Linked DNA regions of Homo sapiens: regions 1, 2, 3 and 4 are each linked to region 5. Evidence: promoter capture Hi-C in 16 types of primary human blood cells and fetal thymus (Javierre and others, 2016). All regions are on one chromosome and are shown on one strand. The core of a region is centred on a gene start or on the middle of the fragment in contact, and the rest is flanking DNA. Distances in the headings are between cores, read along the strand shown. Region 1 holds the start of TSPEAR (thrombospondin type laminin G domain and EAR repeats). Region 2 holds the start of KRTAP12-2 (keratin associated protein 12-2). Region 3 holds the start of KRTAP10-11 (keratin associated protein 10-11). Region 4 overlaps TSPEAR (thrombospondin type laminin G domain and EAR repeats). Region 5 holds the start of TSPEAR-AS2 (TSPEAR antisense RNA 2).

Region 1 (3,593 bases), core at 220-2,719, 200 kb after region 5:
TGACTCGACACCCCTCCCAGCTCCCCGGCAAGATACCCCCGCCCGAGTTCCCATGCCCCTGCCTTACCTGTGCAGGGCTCCCAACCCTGCGTGCCGTGGCCGGGGGCCGCCAGGGGCAGCACAAAACACAGACTCAGCAGGGCAGACATGAGGGGCTTGGGTGCCAAGCTCCATCCAGGGCTCCGCTCAGCCTGCAGGGAAGTGGCTGCTCCTCAGACGTCTGCGTCAGCCTTTCCAGGGGCGGCCGCGGGGCCCCCGGGGGTCACTGCGACGGCCACATGCCAGCGGCCTAAGGCGGGGACAGAGGTGGCCCTGGCGGTCGCAGTGGGGAAGCTTCTGGTTGCTGCCTGCGGGAGGCAGGTGGCCCCTGGCAGGTTGGGCTGCAGCCGCTGGTTTATCTCTTCATTTCCCTGATGGGCTTGGGCCCTGCGTGCAGGTGACAGGTGATAACAATCTCGGCCCGGCCTGGGATTAGTCGCTGGCAAAGCACACTTTCCAAAAGGAAAGACAGAAATAGATCGTGCTGCGGAGAGCTGAGAACAAGCCAGAGAAACTTAGGAGACCCGTTTCCCTCAGGCGCAGGCTCCCTGGGCTCACCGCCTTTTAGGACCAGGGGCACAGGCGACCATGGCAGGCCGGGAGCGGGTGGGGCGGGTGCACTCTGGCTGGGGGTTTGGGCAGCAGGTCCCCACAGTCTGCTGGAGGGTCCCAGAGGCAGGTCGGGGCTCTGCTAGGGGGTCCTAGAGGCAGGTCGGGGCTCTGCTGTGGTGGGGAGGGGGGGTCCCAGAGGTAGGTCCTGTGCTCTGCGGGGGGTGGGGGGTGGTCCTGGAGGCAGATCCCAGGCTCTGCTGGGGGTCTAGGCGGCAGGTCCCGGGCTCTGCTGGGTCCCCCGGCGGCAGCGGCCGTCCATCCCCAGGAGGGGCTGGGCTCCCTCGGAGGGCTTTTTATCTGGTGCCCAGCCCTCCCGAGGGTGTGTGGGTTTGTCAACTGTTGGGTTTCAGGAATTTCCCTCTGGAGGGAAGTCGGTCCTTAAAGGGAACAGCTAATGAGAAGGAGTGGGTGAGTGTCCCTCAGGGAAGGGGCACGGCCATGGTCACTCATCCAGAGCCGAGGACCCTCGCATCTGACCTCTCGACACTGCAATGGGCATGCCACTCGAGGGGAGCAGCTATTAACTAGAAGTATTCTTTTTACAAAAGTGCCCTGCCCCCCTACCCTCTCCAAACAGCACTGAACGCAGCATTCTTGCAGAAATCTCCAACGCAACTGGGTGCTGCGTTTCTGTGCCTGGTGTGGAGGCCCTGGCAAACTGGTCTGAGGCCGATGGCTTTCCCTGGTTCACAGGCCCACAAAGTGCACACACTCCTGCTAGTTTCAGAAGGAAGCCCCCACTCTGGGACCTCTGACACAATGAGTTTTCCAAGAGCATAGACCCTGTCATTAGGGCTTGTGGAGAGAGACAGAGATGGAGGGAGGGAAGGAGAAAGGGGCCGAAGAGAGGGACAGAGACTGGGGAAAGACCTAGAGGGAGAGGGAGAAAGTGGGGAGGCACAGAGAGCTCCTGGGGCTCTGGAGGCTCTTCCCATAAACAGCCCCTGCGATGGGACAGGCTCATTCTGTCTCCCTCTCGCTTCCTCTTTTACCCGGCCCTGCCCCCAGGGATATTAATTCATAGTTAATATTAATTCACAGATATTAATTCGTAGTCCTATTTATGAGGCTTGAGTTAACTGGCATCATATGAAGGGAGGTTGAAGGTCTCCCATTATATGTGACTCCTCTTCCAGCACCCAAGTGAGCCCTGGGGTGGGGTGTGTCTCCCTCACCCCCCAGGACCCCCTGCCAGCTCCGGTGGGCATGCAGTGCCAGGACAGAGGCTTCCTGAGTGGGCTCCCCACCCCACTGGGGCTCAGCAGCTGGAAACGCTCCACATAGCACCATTCCTGACAACCCTAACCTAATGAGGGACGACGTGGTTCCTCAGAGGAGCGAAAGGCCTGATCGTTGTGTAAATGGAATAAATGGAGTCTTCCTCTTTTGTGTCCCAATCCATGAGAACTTTGTCCTGGGCCAGGCCGCTCCCAGGCCAGCTGCGGGTCACAGTGGCCTCTGAGACCACGCCCCTGAGGGGATGGGGACTCCCCCCAAATGATGGGCAGGTGGCACTCCAGAGCTAATTTAAACAATCACAATTAAGCTGCCTTGAACCCTTCCGGCAAAATTTTTCTTATGTTACATTTGATGCAGTAGCACTAGTAATAGCCTCAAAGATAACTAAGGGTGAGCCAGTGGAAATCCTCCTCACATACGAAACTTCACAAAGATGTGCTGAGCGCAGGAGGAAAGCTCAGAGTTCCCTCCTCTACAGCTCCCTGTGTGACCCTGGACAAGTCACTTACATTCTCCAAGGTTTAACTTCCACGTCTGTAAAATGTGCCTAGGAGGACACATGTGGTAGGGCTGTCCTATAAATTAAGTGATAGCTATAACGTACCTAAATCAGCATTTCTGGAACCACGACCCAGGGAACACCAGCTCCAAAATGCTCGATGAGAAAAAGCAGGTGCATTTGCAGGTGGACTCCACAGCCCCTTCCTCAGGGACACAAGCTTGGCTCACCCACGCGGAGCTCTGAGACATCAGTGATCAGAAGCCTGCTTAGGCTGGGCGAGGTGGCACCCGCCTGAAATCCTAGCAGTTTGTGAGGCCGAACTGGGAAGATTGCTTGAACCGAGGAGTTCAAGACCAACAGTGACAACATAGTGAGCCTCCATGTCTACAAAAAATTCTAAAAATTGGCTGGACGTGATGGTGTGCACCTATAGTGCCAGCTACTCAGGAGGCTGAGATTGAAGGATCACTTGAGCCCAGGAGGTGGAGGTTGCCGTGAGCCATGATCATACCACTGCACTCCAGCCTGGGAGACAGAGGAAGACTGTCGAGAGAGAAAGAAAGAGGAAGGAAGGAAGGAAGGAAAGAAGCAAGGGAGGGGAGGAGGGAGGGAGGCAGGGGAGGGGAGGGGAGGGGAAGGAGTCCCCACCCAAATCTCATGTCAAATTGCAATTCCCACATGTTGAAGAAGGGGCCTGGTGGGAGGTGATTGGATCATGGGGGTGGTTTCCAATGCTTTAGCACCATCCGTCTTGTGCTGTCTCATGATGGAATTCTCATGAGATCTGTTTCTTCAAAGGTATAGGGCATTCCCCTTTGCTCTCTCTCTCTCTCTCCTGCTCCACCTTGGTAAGATGTGCTGGCTTCCCCTTCACCTTCCGCCATGATTGTAAGATTCCTGAGGTCTCCTAGCCATGTTTCCCGTTAAGCCTGTGGAACTGTGAGTCAATTAAACCTCTTTTCTTCGTAAATTACCCAGTCTCAGGTAGTTCTTTATAGCGGTGTGAAAATAGACTAAGCAAGAAAGAAAGAGGAAAAGAAAAGAGAGAAATCCTCCACATCATGTGTATCAAAGTCTCATGGAGACGAATCCCCAGAACCCACTAAGAGAAATGCATGTGCAAAGAAGAAAGCATGTCCCTGCCATAACATCAGACATCAGAACTGAGCTTCACTCCCGAGAAGCAGGTTGGGTAAGTGCT
Region 2 (3,438 bases), core at 504-3,003, 150 kb after region 5:
CAATAGGTCCCTGACCACCTTGCCTAAAAGATGATGAAACCAGTTTTTTAACCCTAAACTCAACACTTGCCTCCAAGGCAAATAAAAATCTTGGAATCGAAGGCAGCCAGTAGTGAGAACGTTCTTCAGGGGACAGTTCTGGGCTATGCTATCTGGAATAGCAGACTCCTGGGGCAAGAGGGCTGGCCCATCTACTGGGGAACGTTTAACCTGAGACAGTCACAGCAGAGCCCCCCAGGAGGGGAATACAGCCCAGACAGGGGAAATGCAGAAGAATGCTACCAGCACAACGCAGACTGGGAAAAGCAAGTTCCAGATTACATTCTGAATAATTTCCTTTTCATATCACCAGAAATTACTAAATTAGAAAACACCCATTTCAGGAATACATAGAGATATGACTCAACTCTATTTTTTCTAGAAAGTAACAGAATAAGGAGCACACAATCCCAACAGTGGCTGCCCCAAGAAGTTCTTGGTAAATTATTGATGATGTTCTCATTTCTATGTCAGGCAGTGGGTTCATGCGGGTTTATTATATTAGGATCCTCAGTAATTGATCATCAGTCAATCAATAAAAACCAAGCCTTTGTGGACCAGTGATGGGAGTGTGTGCCGCAGAACTAATCCAGTTCTGTAAACTTGAGATCCTCCGCGACCTGGGAAACAGGACGTCCACCAACCACATCAGAAAACCCAATTGTCAATGCTCTGAGGCTTTGGCCATCAGTGCAGGGCTTGTTGGCCTGGAGCAGGAGTGGACAGCCAGTGGGGAAGCGAGACCACTCTACCACAGGCGGGTAAGTCACTTCTGTGGCCACTGCACCTGGGCCCCAGGAGCCCTGGGAGAGACCACATGGGCATCTGCAGCTGCGCCCTCCACCCGGGACACCACCTTCTGATGAGCACTGGGTGAAGGGATCACTGAAGAGGGTTTAGCAGCAAATTCTATGTAATCAGCAGAATAGATAGCAGGGAGTATGGAAATAAAAAAGAAAGACCAGAAATGCAGAGCTGCATGGGGAAAGCTGGTTTATTTGGCTCTCATGGGGTCAGAGAATGACTCTGGGACCCCAGACTTCCCTGGGGGGATGGGCAAGGTCAGCAAGGGCTCCAGATCATTCTGTCACATTCTCAATCCAGAATTCAGAGGGTTCAACTGAGCATGCTTTTCACCTGCACCATGTGCAGAAGACCAACTGAGGACTCATCCAGGGAGTGTACAGGTGTGGCCTCATCTGCACTGGGAGCAGCGGGTCTGGAGATTCATGCTCAGCAGCAGGAAGAGATACTGTAGGAGATGGGTCTGCAGAGGACGCTGGTGCAGGAGGGCTGGCAGCACCCAGAGGACTGGCAGGACGGAGCCGCATACACGACAGGCCTGCAGCTCACAGGCACGCACAGGGAGGACTGGCAGGAGGGGGCTGCACACACAATGGGCCTGCAGCTCACAGGCACACACACAGAAGACTGGCAGCTCACGGGCACGCACACAGCTGACTTGAAGCTCATGGGCACACACACAGAAGACTGGCAGCTCACGGGCAGGCACACGGCTGGCTTGAAGCTCACGGGCACACACACGGAGGACTGGCAGCCCACAGGCACACAGCAGGATGCCTGGCAGGAGCTGGGCACACAACAGGCTGGCTGGCAGGGGCTGGGCGCGCAGCAGGCTGGCTGGCAGCCCGAGGAGCAGCTGGTATGACACATGGTGGCGTGTGGCTGGATAAGGTCGAGGCAGAGGGCAGTGATGTCTGGGGACGGCCTCCCTGGGCAGCCTTTATACCTGGGCCCAGGCATCCCCACAGCACAGAAGCACACCTGTCTTCCTTGTTTTTCTTCCTCAGTGCTGTCTCCTGGAGCTTAATTTTCTGTTGTAGGTGTCTCTGGGTTTTGTTTGGCCCTTAGCTTCATGACTAATTGCACCTTCTTCGAACTCTTGGTATGCTTGGAAACCTGCCAGAGTGTTTTACTGGCTTCATCAAGATTCTTCCTTGTTCTTTAAAATTTTACCTGAGTTACTTTTGTGAGATTCCAAAAACTCAGATCTCCAGATTTTTTTCCTCTCTGTGTGATGATGGTCCTTAAACCACAGAAGTTTACACTCCTCTCATGGCTCAGGAAGGCTCCACAGTCAATGTGAGGTAGAACAGGACGTGTCTAGCTGATCTGTGGGTGTCCTGAGAGCTTAGAGCTGGATGAGAGCTAGCAGATGGAGGAAGAACATGGAAATCACTTGTCCATAGGATGAGTGGGGACAAAGGGTGTGGGTCACAGAGAACTTCTTGTGAGTGGTGACCATGGATCTTTGTCTTGAGAAATCCTCCTAGTTAAGAACCAAGATGAGACAACACCACTGGCCCTCATGCATGGAGACACAGCTCTAAGGAAATCAAGCTGGTCCAAGCATGTTCCCAGGGAAGCATGTGAGGCCAGTGAAGGGTCCCATGGACAGCCACAGCAGGATATGTGTGAGCTGAATATAGAAGGTTCCAAGGGCCAGAATGACTTCTGGGTATGTTCAGCAGAAAGCCATGTGCACCCTGTACTGCAGGGACAGTAGAATCTCTGAGCCTACAGATGTCAACACCAGATCACTTGGAACTTGGCATCATGATAACAGAATGAAGGAAAAAACCACGTGATCATCTCAATTGATATAGAAAAGGCATTTCACAAAATTCAAGATTCTTTCATGATGACAACAATCAACAAACTAAGAATAGAAGAAAACTACCTCAACACAATACAAGCCATACATGAAAGACCCACAGCAAGCCTCATACCCACTGGTGAAAAACTGAAGGCTTTTTCTCTAATATTGGGAACAAAGCCAGCATAGTACTAGAAGTTTTACTAAGAGCAACTAGGCAATTGTTTTTAAAAGGAAGAAAGAAAGAAACAAAAAGCATCCAAATTGAAAAGCAAGAAGTAAAGTTAGCTGTGTTCACAGATGACATGATTTTTATATGTAGAAAACTCTAAATATTCCACACACAAAAATTTTAGAATAAATGAATTCAGCAAAGTAGCAGGATACAAAAGCAAAACACAAAAATCAGTTCTATTTCCATAAACTAACAAGCATAATCTCAAAAGGAAAGTACAATAACAATTCCATTTACAATACATTAAAAAGAACAAAATACTCAGGAGTTAACCAAAGAATTAAAATAATTGTGTAACAAAAACTACAAAACGTTGAAAGAAATTAAAGGCAACAGAAATAAATGGAAACACATCCCATGTTCATGAATTGGAAATTAATATTGTTAATATGTCCATACTAACCAAAGCAATCTACAGATTCAATGCAATCCCTGTCAAAATCCCAAGGACATTTCTTGCAGAAATAGAAAAACCCATCCTAAAGTTTATGTGGAGTCTCAAGGGACCCTAAATAGCCAAATCAATCTTAAGAAAAGAATAGAGCTG
Region 3 (3,376 bases), core at 346-2,845, 130 kb after region 5:
ATATTGAAAGGCTCAATAAGTTCTAACCACTGAAAGTAAAATAATGCATTAGCCTAGAAACAAAAGCGTGACACTTTAGAACAATAAAAAGAAACCCAAATGCTCCCAGAGAGTTAAGGAAAGAGAGAAACTAAAAAATGACAAATGACCAGTATCAGACTGTCATCGGCAACACTGGACATCACAAAAAAATGGTGACATGTGTTCATCATTTTGAGGAAAAGTAATTTAAAACCAGAATTTTATACCCAGCTAAACTATCATTATAAATGTGAGGATAAAGTTGACATATTTTCAGACAAGCAAGGAATCTTAAAATGTATGTCCTAAAATCACCATATATGAAAAAGTACTTGATCTTTCACCAAGGCAAAATGAAAATTGAAATAATCCAGAGTGCAGCTTCAAATAAAACAAAGAGCCTCTGAGGGTGGCATGGAAGAGCTGAAGAGACAAAAATAAAGCTTGGATCCACCAGCTACTGAATCTCTGAGCATTCTCCTTACAAGGTGTGAGGGATCGAAGGGAGGGCCACTTAGCTTTTTTTTTTTTTTTTGAGACAGAGTCTTGCTCTGTCACCTAGGCTGGGGTGCAATGGTGCAATCTCAGCTCACTGCAACCTCCACCTCCTGGGTTCAAGAATTCTCCTGCCTCAGCCTAAGTAGCTGGGACTACAGGCACATGCCACCATGCCTGGCTAATTTTTTGTATTTTTAGTAGAGACCGGGTTTCACCATGCTGGCCAGGCTGGTCTCAAACTCCTGACCTCGTGATCCACCCACCTCAGCCCCCCAAAGTACTGGGATTAGAGGCATGAGTCACCACGCTCAGCCAGCTTCCTCTTATCTTATCGTCTGTGCCGTTTTTATTTCATATGAAGTGTACATTTTTCTCCATGTTTATGTTTTAAGATGCTAAAAGTAATAAAATATATCTAATCAGTCCAGAAACAGGATAGGTGGAAACAGAATTGCTTCCTTTGGAGAAACGTTCATCTCTAAAACCTCAACTCAACAAAAGCTTGCTTGAAATATTTTCCGGCCGGACGCGGTGGCTCACGCCTGTAATCCCAGCACTTTGGGAGGCTGAGGCGGGTAGATCATGAGGTCAGGAGTTCAAGACCAGCCTGGCCAAGATGGTGAAACCCCGTCTCTACTAAAAATACAAAAATTACAGCGTGCCTGTAATCCCAGCTACTCGGGAGGCTGAGGTGGGAGAATCGCTTGAACCCAGGGGGCGGAGGTTGCAGTGAGCTGAGATCGCGCCACTGCACTCCAGCCTGGGTGACAGAGCAAGACTCCCTCTCAAAAAAAAAAAAAAAAAAAAAAAAAAAAAAGGAAATATTTTCCACCACATTTCTGTGGCCAAAATAAAAACTGATGAAGAAACAGAGCCCTGCGACATACATACCAGTTTAATAAGGGAAAAACAAAGAGATAAACCAGCATGAATGATGCATCTCCAGCCACCAGCTGTAAACACCAACAAGGAAGAAAAGCTTGTGGAGCCTCCTGTTGGGACAACACATGCCAGGGAGGGATTTAAAAGCCCCACAGCCCTGAGCACCTCACTCACTCACTCACACACACACTCACACACTCACTTACACCTCCCCCAGCTCACCTCCTCCCCACCCCAGCATGGCCGCGTCCACCATGTCTGTCTGCTCCAGCGCTTACTCCGACTCCTGGCAGGTGGACGACTGCCCAGAGAGCTGCTGTGAGCCCCCCTGCAGCGCCCCCAGCTGCTGCGCCCCGGCCCCCTCCCTGAGCCTGGTCTGCACCCCAGTGAGCTGTGTGTCCAGCCCCTGCTGCCAGGCGGCCTGTGAGCCCAGCGCCTGCCAATCAGGCTGCACCAGCTCCTGCACGCCGTCATGCTGCCAGCAGTCTAGCTGCCAGCCGGCTTGCTGCACCTCCTCCCCCTGCCAGCAGGCCTGCTGTGTGCCTGTCTGCTGCAAGACTGTCTGCTGCAAGCCTGTGTGCTGTGTGCCTGTCTGCTGTGGGGCTGCTTCTTCGTGCTGCCGGCAGTCTAGCTGCCAGCCAGCTTGCTGTGCCTCTTCCTCCTGCCAGCCGGCCTGCTGTGTGCCCGTCTGCTGCAAGCCTGTGTGCTGTGTGTCCACCTGCTCTGAGGATTCCTCTTCATGCTGCCAGCAGTCTAGCTGCCAGCCAGCTTGCTGCACCTCCTCCTCCTACCAGCAGGCCTGCTGCGTGCCTGTCTGCTGCAAGACTGTCTACTGCAAGCCCATCTGCTGTGTGCCTGTCTGCTCTAGGGCTTCCTCTTCACGCTGCCAGCAGCCTAGCTGCCAGCCAGCTTGCTGCACCACCTCCTGCTGCAGACCCTCCTCCTCTGTGTCCCTCCTCTGCCACCCCGTGTGCAGGTCCACCTGCTGTGTGCCCGTCTCCTCCTGCTGTGCCCCCACCTCCTCCTGCCAGTCCAGCTGCTGCCGCCCGGCCTCCTGCGTGTCCCTCCTCTGCCGCCCCGCAAGCTCCCGCCTGGCCTGCTACAGCCTCTGCTCAGGCAAGAAGTCCAGCTGCTGAGTGCTCAATCCTTGTCTCCTGCTGACTGTGTCTTTGCTGCCAAGCAGGATTCTCCAGTCTCAGGAGCCCCTGGAGTCCTCAGAATCCACCAGCTCCATCAGTAGCCACAGAGCTGCTGCCTGAAGGGGATTTTGAGCGCGTCACACTTTCCTCCCCACTGTCTGGGAAGAGACAACCCACAAATCCCTCAGCAGGTGGACTGTGGCTTTCTGGAGCCCCCTTCTCCAAATGTGTTGCTTATACCCAATGTGACAAAGAAGAACTGCTCTAATCAATAAATTCTTGAGTCAGGAAATACGGGCTGGTGTGCACTTTCTGCTCTTCCCCTGAGCCCCTCTGCCTACTCCAAATTTGGGGTGTGGGACCCACTGTCTTGTTAAAGGCAGACAGGACAGTGTCTCTCATTCCGAGATCAAACACTTGGAAGACAGCAGGCTTTGAAAGCAAATGTGATCAGCTCCACACTCTTCCTGCAGCCAAAGCCCTGCCCACAGGGGATGAGCCTCCAAGCTGAGCCAGGGAGGGGAGCAGAGCTGAGTGGGCTCGGCCTCTGGTGAGCTTTGGGCCACCCGCCCATGCCTGTCCCCTGCCAGTCCAAGCTAAAGCTGAGTCGGGAAGAAGCAGAAATCCCGTTCAGTTGGGACCTGAGAGCCCCAGGCACCGTGCTGGCCTCGTGGTGTGTGGGCCGTGGAAAAGGTGCCCACACAGAGGGCTGCCCCGAGAGTTTGAGGGCCACTCTGTGTGCTCTGAAGCACTAGCAATTTCATGGGCCCCAAGAGGGGTCCTGGAGTTACTCAGACGTCACTCATCCTACTCAGGGTTTAAGGCCTGGGTGAGGA
Region 4 (3,248 bases), core at 697-3,196, 170 kb after region 5:
AACTAACATATCACTGCACCCAGGGGAAACCAATGGTTTAAGGAACTTAAAAAATCCTAAATACGGCCGGGCACGGTGGCTCACGCCTGTAATCCCAGCACTTTGGGAGGCCGAGGCGGGCGGATCACGAGGTCAGGAGATCGAGACCATCCTGGCTAACACGGTGAAACCCCGTCTCTACTAAAAATACAAAAAATTAGCCAGGCGTGTTGGCGGGTGCCTGTAGTCCCAGCTACTCAGGAGGCTGAGGCAGGAGAATGGCGTGAACCTGGGAGGCGGAGCTTGCAGTGAGCTGAGATCATGCCACTGCACTCCAGCCTGGGCGACAGAGCGAGACTCCATCTCGAATAAAAAAAAAAAAAGTCCTAAATACACTCAGATATTCAGGAAGATGTTACATCTACCAAACAAGGACAAGATGCTTTGAAAATGAACAATTAGAACAATGATCCCTAAAATGTCACAGATATTAAACATCTCATTGATATTTAAAATTAAACAGAGAGGCTTGAAGGTGAGTGTATTAGGGTTCCCTTAGAGGGACAGAATAGAATGAATATATATATATATATATATATATATATTTTGGGGGGGGTTACTAAGTATTAACTAACATGATCACAAGGTCCCACAATAGGCCGTCTGCAAGCTGAGGAGCAAAGAGATCCAGTCTGAGTCCCAAAACTGAAGAACTTGGAGTCCAGTGTTCAAGGGCAGAAAGCATCCAGCACAGCAGAAAGATGTAGGCTGGGAGGCTAGGCCAGTCTCGCCTCTTCACATTTTTTCTGTCTGCTTTATATTCGCTGGCAGCTGATTAGATGGTGCCCACTCAGATTAAGGGTGGGCCTGCCTTTCCCAGCCACTGACTCAAATGTGAATCTCCTTTGGCAACACCCTTACAGACACTCCCAGGATCAGTACTTTGCATCCTTCAATCCAATCAAGTTGACACTCAGTATTAACCATCACCATGAGGTTGAGAAATCGCTCTGATTTGGAACAAAACGTCAAAGAGATAAAAAAGAAATGAGGAAAAAATACCATAAATGACTGATCTAGTGAATGTAATCCCTGATGTGTGGGAGTCCCACAAAGCGGGACAGTGAGAATGATGAGCGGATGCACAAATAAACTCCTAAAGAGGAGCATTTCCCAAGGCTAAAGACACAGTCTTCAGGCTGAAAAGAACCAAGTGATGCCAAGAAAAATGAACGGAAAAATCCTAGATATGTCCTCTGTTGAAATGATATAACATCAAAGATAACAAGTGGTTCCCATGGGCTTCCAGAAAATCAAACAAACAAACAAATGAACAAGTCACCCACAAGCAATAAAAATCAGATTAGCATCAGACATCTCATCAGCAGCACTGAAGGCTACAGACTCACAGAACAACACTCATGATGTCCGGGAGGTCAGCATTCAGCCCACGCTTTCAAAGATGAGCATGCTGTAAATAAACAGGTTAAACAGAAGATAAGCAGTTCTTAAGATAAGCAGTAAACATGACAGCAAATTATTAACCATAAAACTATTAAGTAAGCATATGTGTTTTTCTAAGGCTAAGTAGCATGTATTTTATCCTCTGGGGGTGTGGTCATTTGCTTTTCTACATTTTTGTTTGTCTGTTTGTTTATAGAGAAGGGGTGGTCTTGCCATGTTGTCAGTCTAGCATCAAGCTTCTGGGCTCAAGTGATCCTTCCACCTCAGCCTCTCAAGTAGCTGGGACTACAGGTATGCACCACCATGCCAGGCTCTTTTCAAAATATTTTAAAGTAGTGGAAATATTTTTTCAAACTGAATCTGACCTAGAAGTCAAGTCTGTAAAACAGATTAAAACACAGCTTCTCTAATTTAAAGTGGGATGGAGAATCCAGACACCTATTAGTTTGTCCTCCTCCCCTCCCTTCCCTTCATCTCCCCTCGCCTCCTCTCCCCTTCTCTCCTCTCTCCACACTTCTCTCTCTCTCCCCAGCTCACCCCCTTACCTAGGTAACATCTGAAATGTCTCCTAAGAACATGATTTTACAACCTTGTTGCTTTGAGTCCCTCTCTCTCCCCAAGCTCTAAGAGATTACGGAATTAGCATGTGCATCATTAGGCCAGGGAACAGAGCTGATAGCAAAGAATGGCACTCACCCCTATGTCTCTAACGTATAACTGTTAACAACATATGTTGTATCAGCCATTACTCACAGCTGACTTTCTCTATAATAAGCTTATTTTTTCAAGAATCCTTATGTCCCCATCCGTACACTAAGACCCTAAGAACTGAGAGACAGAACATCAAGGACCTATTCATCCATATTGTTCCAATTGCAAAAATGCATGAGGACATTATGTATTGATAAAAGATTCAACTCATCAAAGATATGAGAATTAGAAACATATATGCACCATACAAAGAGTCCCCACATATATGAAGCAAACATTGACAGAATTCAAGTGAGAAATAGTTCTACAATAGTTGGAGACTTTAATATTTCATTTTCAATAATGAACAGAACATCTAGTCAGAAGGTCAATAGGAAATAGAGAACTGAACCCACTATAAACCAGTTACTCACAAAAGATATGTATAGACACTCCACCCAACAACAGCTTTACTGGTGAATATCACCAAACATTTTTTTAAAATTTAACAAAAACCTCCTCAAGTTGTGAAAGAAAAAAATAGAAGGATCACTTTCTAACTCACTCTGTGAAGCAAACATTATGCTGATACCAAACCCACATAAGACATCAAAAGAAAAGAAAATCACAGACGAACATGACTTGTAAGTACAGATGCAAAAATTCTCAACAAAATACTAGCAAAGTGATTCCAACAGCATATTAAAAGGATTATATACCATGACCAAGTTGGATTTATCCCAGGAATGCAAAGATAGCTCCAGATTAAAAATAATCAATGTAGTATACCACACGAAGAGAATGAAGTGAAAAAACCCACATGATCTCAATTAACAAAGAAAAGGCTTTGACAAAGTCCAACACCATTTTATGATTTTAAAACACTCAGAAAACTAGAAATAGAAGGGAATTTCCTCAACATGCTAAACAGCATGTATGAAAAACCCACAGCTTGCATTATACTTGACAGTGAAAGACTGAAAGCTTTCCCCCTAAGATTAGGAACAAGACAGGATGTCCCTTTTCACCACCAATATTCAACATTGTACTGGAAGTTCTAGCCAGAGCTATTAAACAAGAAAAATAAATAAATAAAAGTCATTAAAATTGGAAAG
Region 5 (3,540 bases), core at 999-3,498:
ACCCTGTGTTTCTGGGAGAAAGTGAGGTCTGTGTGCACAGCTCCTCAAACCCCACCTGCACCCCACACCCCCGCAGACCCCTCCAGAAAGGGCGCCTCTCTATGGCACACACCCACTTTCAAAGCATCTCGGCTTCACCCGCTTCAAAGCTCACGTTCATGAAAGACATTGCAAAACTCAAACCAAACAGTAAACAAATTAAGACATCTCTAGGACCTAAAAGGATTTCAACACAATGTGAGAAATGTTGGCAAAACATGAAAGTGGGCTTTGTGAGTTTTGAGGAATTACTGAGTTTTGAAAGATGAGGCTCAGGCCAGGTGGAGAGGAAGCCCGTCCATGTGTGCGTGGTCCCAGCGCCTTCCCAGGGCCCTCCTAAGGCACCTTCAGGGCCTGGGCCATGATGGCGCCCCCAGCAGCCAGGTCCCCGTTCCCGGAGTTCTGGTTCTGCTTTGGGAGCTGCAGCCGTGCTTCCTTCTGTCTGCTGTGGTCCTGCTCTAGCCCCTGCTCTTCTCTGATGTTTCTTTCAGGCGGATGTCACCCACCCCTTGGGACTTCGCCATGGGTCGCTAGCCCAGACCCTCCCCTTGGTTCCGGTGGTTCCATTTCTGCCCCTTTGCTGCTGGCCCCCTTCTGAGGATGCCCGTGCATCTCCAGGACCACTGCTCCAGTCCTTGGTGTAGATCAAAGCTGGCCTTCACACGCGGCCTGAAAATGTAGAGTGGCCGCCTTCTGGGCTGGGCTGCCACCTCCACCACATCACCCGTGACAGAAGCCCCGTGTTTTTCGGTAACCACGTTCCACGAACACCTCCCGACTGCCTTCCAGAACACACAAAGATCAACGAAGCTCAGAATCCAGTCCCGACGTCATTTCATGAAGAGCAGGTAGTCCATCAAAGGGATGGGCCCCATGAGTGAAGGGCTGAGACCCCACCATGGTGTGAGGCGTCCCAGGCACTCCCGTCACGGCCCAAACCAGGCTGCAGGCTCCATCCCCATGGGGCAGGCACAGAGGAGGCGATTCATGTGGACACAGGGACACCTGTGGACGCCCTGGCTCGGCCGCTTACCGCCGTGTGTTTGTGGCCAGGTCCCTGCTCCTGAGCCTCAGTTTCCACACCTGTGAGATGGGTCTGAGGTGGAATCGCCAACCAGCTGAGGATGCGCAGCCACAGACCACCTTCCAGAAATCTCCAAAAGGCTTTCCAAAACAGGAAAACAAGGAAGGCTGCCATCAGCAGGAATTCCAGGGCTTTCAGAATGAGGCTGTCAGGAGTGAAGGGAGCTGTGCTCCACATGCAGGGCAGTGGCCAGGGCTGCCAGGCCTTGTTTATCTGGGAGCGCCAGGCTGCCTGCCTGCACCTGGTCTGGGCACCTGAAGGCAGAGCTGCTCCTGCTTAGGGTCTGTGGCAACTGTCCTCCTCAGTGGGTGCTGCTGGGAGCTCCTCTGATTCCTGGTGGGCGGCTTCTGGCCTCGCCTCTTCACCCACGGTGTAGGGTGTGGGATGGAGATGCAGGGCCTCTGCTCTCCTTCTCCCCTCCCCCAAGCAGCCTGGGTTGTACCTCCACTAATAAACACCAACACCCGCGCCCAGGGTGGGTTCGGCCACGGGGCGATTCTCTGAGTGACACATCAGGATCAGCTTCGTGTGGTCCTGACCTTACGGTAATGTCAGCCCCCAGAGCCAGGGGCCGGGCTATGGCACCACCCACCCAGGCGATTTCTATGTCGGGATGACCAACTGTGCCATCCCTGGGGCAGTCCCCCATGCCAGGCAAACATTCTCCTTTCATGCTTAAAATCACAGGACGGGTTCACCTGCTTCGTCCTTGGACCTGTGATCTATGTACGCTGCTTTTCAACAAGTTTCTAGTTGTCCCCTCCTGGGTATGGCCCTCCCCTCCTTCCTTCCCAGAGGAAGAAAACACACCAGCTCTGCATGCGAGAACGCTCCCAGCTCTCCCATCTTCCCATCGCAGGAGCCCCTCGCTCCTGCACCCTGGGGCTTTCGGTCCTGTCCCACCTCAGCGGCTGCTGCACAGGAAGGCCGTCCTGGCCTGGCCCCTGTGTCTCTGCCTTCCTCGACTCCTGCAGTCTGTGCTTCTGTCACTCCTTCAGCACGCCATCCCTGGACACACTTTGTGCTCCGTGGACTCCACAGCCCCCAAACCCCCTCTTATGCCCTCCCTGACCCCAGACCATCTGGGCTGGCTTCTCTCTAGGACACATACCAGTTCTCATTCCAGAACTTTCCTTATGGTCATCTTTGGGTGGAGCCACCACTTCCAGTTCTGATCTTCTCATTCTGGTTGAGTACCTGGGCTTGCCAGTGCACCCCCCAGGAACACCGCCTAGTCCAGGGCTCCCACAGGTCTCAGACTGACAGGAGACTGGGTCATATGACCAGCACTAGCCAATGAGCTGTGAGTACACGTGACACAGGGACAAGCTGGGTCATGTGACTGGCACTAGCCAATGAGCTGTGAGGACGTGAGCACAGGTCCAGCTAGGCTGGGTCATATGACAAGCATTAGCCAATGAGCTGTGAGGACACGTGAGTACAGGTCCAGCTAGGCTGGGACATGTGACTGGCACTGGCCCATGGGCTGTGAGCACAGGTCAGGTCAGCCCCTTCCTGCTGCTTCCCACCGTGTGTGCTCCTTGTCTGACTTGATATGAGAACTAACCCAATATGGCAGGAAGCCACTGACATGTGGGAGCCGTGCATGGCAGTGGCCAGCGTCCTTGTCCTGCGGGGGCTCTGTGGACATCACTCGCCTTCAGAACACTGAGCCCTCCTACCTCCTGATATCCAGGGCTGCCGATGGGAAATCCCAGGCTGCCGCGGCTCCTGTGTGCTTTGAAGGTAACTTTCCTTTGCTCTCGCGCTCCTTGGGCTCAGCGCCCTTTCAGTCTGATGAGATCTGGGCGGTTTTCTTCAAGCCTTCTCTGACAATTCCATCACTGTCCTCACCCTCTTCTTTTTTTTCTAGAACTTTGGTTAGCCAGATACAGACTCTCCTGGTTTGATTCTGTCTCTTTTCATTCTACATTCTAGAAGATACTCTTAACTTTATATTTCAGTCATGTTAATGAATGTCTTCTTTTAATGCCAGCAATTGCATTTTTAATGTCCAAGCTCTCTGTCTCATTAGTAGCATTTTTTATTTCGTAAGTGCAGTATCATCTTGAATACTTCTGAAGACAAGTATAACTTAAAAAAATTCCTTTCTGTTTCTAGAGCTAGCTCAGTTTCTTTCAGCCTTTTTCTTTAGCCTGACTCCTGCAGTTTTCAGGATTTTTGTCAAACATCCGGGGACCCTTAGCTGGAGAGGATGGCATGGGTGACACGCAGCTGGCCAGGTACGCTCTGGGGCACTGGGGCATCTTGAGCACCTTGGTGCAGTGTCGTGAAGAAGACACTGTAAATTGGACTTGGTGTTATCACAGGGGCTTTAGGATCACGGTGTTGGTAGATCTAGGATGATAATCTCCAAAACGCACTCCCCAACCCACTGCAGGGATCCTTTCTCTTGT

Evidence for each region. Contacts are between HindIII fragments. The CHiCAGO score rates a contact against its expected background, and 5 or more counts as called.
Region 1: a contact is called between a fragment that was not itself captured here and the fragment with the promoter of TSPEAR-AS2 in region 5, in 5 of 17 cell types (naive CD4 T cells, naive CD8 T cells, total CD8 T cells and 2 more). The highest score is 8.3, in naive CD4 T cells.
Region 2: a contact is called between the fragment with the promoter of KRTAP12-2 here and the fragment with the promoter of TSPEAR-AS2 in region 5, in 5 of 17 cell types (naive CD4 T cells, naive CD8 T cells, total CD4 T cells and 2 more). The highest score is 10.3, in naive CD4 T cells.
Region 3: a contact is called between the fragment with the promoter of KRTAP10-11 here and the fragment with the promoter of TSPEAR-AS2 in region 5, in 3 of 17 cell types (naive CD8 T cells, total CD4 T cells and naive CD4 T cells). The highest score is 5.5, in naive CD8 T cells.
Region 4: a fragment that was not itself captured here is called in contact with the fragment with the promoter of TSPEAR-AS2 in region 5 in 5 of 17 cell types (naive CD8 T cells, naive CD4 T cells, total CD8 T cells and 2 more); the score reaches 8.0 in naive CD8 T cells.

Annotation. Positions count from the first base shown.
Region 1 is chr21:44,711,366-44,714,958 of GRCh38, forward strand. It overlaps TSPEAR (thrombospondin type laminin G domain and EAR repeats), which reads right to left and starts at 207. Exons shown (of 12, transcript NM_144991.3): 1 at 68-207. The coding sequence starts at 149. RefSeq lists an enhancer at 1-167. The HindIII fragment of the contact is 2,276 bases long and covers 332-2,607 here.
Region 2 is chr21:44,665,174-44,668,611 of GRCh38, forward strand. It overlaps KRTAP12-2 (keratin associated protein 12-2), which reads right to left and starts at 1,754. Exons shown (of 1, transcript NM_181684.3): 1 at 1,016-1,754. The coding sequence starts at 1,713. The coding sequence ends at 1,273. All of the region lies in intron 1 of TSPEAR (thrombospondin type laminin G domain and EAR repeats), which reads right to left. The HindIII fragment of the contact is 11,754 bases long and covers 1-3,438 here.
Region 3 is chr21:44,644,819-44,648,194 of GRCh38, forward strand. It overlaps KRTAP10-11 (keratin associated protein 10-11), which reads left to right and starts at 1,596. Exons shown (of 1, transcript NM_198692.3): 1 at 1,596-2,832. The coding sequence starts at 1,641. The coding sequence ends at 2,537. The region is part of intron 1 of TSPEAR (thrombospondin type laminin G domain and EAR repeats); the gene reads right to left. RefSeq lists an enhancer at 2,271-3,135. The HindIII fragment of the contact is 3,315 bases long and covers 1,497-3,376 here.
Region 4 is chr21:44,689,157-44,692,404 of GRCh38, forward strand. All of the region lies in intron 1 of TSPEAR (thrombospondin type laminin G domain and EAR repeats), which reads right to left. Among named protein-coding and RNA genes, the nearest start is that of KRTAP10-12, 6.4 kb to the right of the region's middle. The HindIII fragment of the contact is 539 bases long and covers 1,678-2,216 here.
Region 5 is chr21:44,514,967-44,518,506 of GRCh38, forward strand. It overlaps TSPEAR-AS2 (TSPEAR antisense RNA 2), which reads left to right and starts at 2,249. Exons shown (of 2, transcript NR_026548.1): 1 at 2,249-2,869. The region is part of intron 9 of TSPEAR (thrombospondin type laminin G domain and EAR repeats); the gene reads right to left. TSPEAR-AS1 (TSPEAR antisense RNA 1) reads left to right here. Exons shown (of 7, transcript NR_103707.1): 7 at 531-1,609. The HindIII fragment of the contact is 11,587 bases long and covers 1-3,540 here.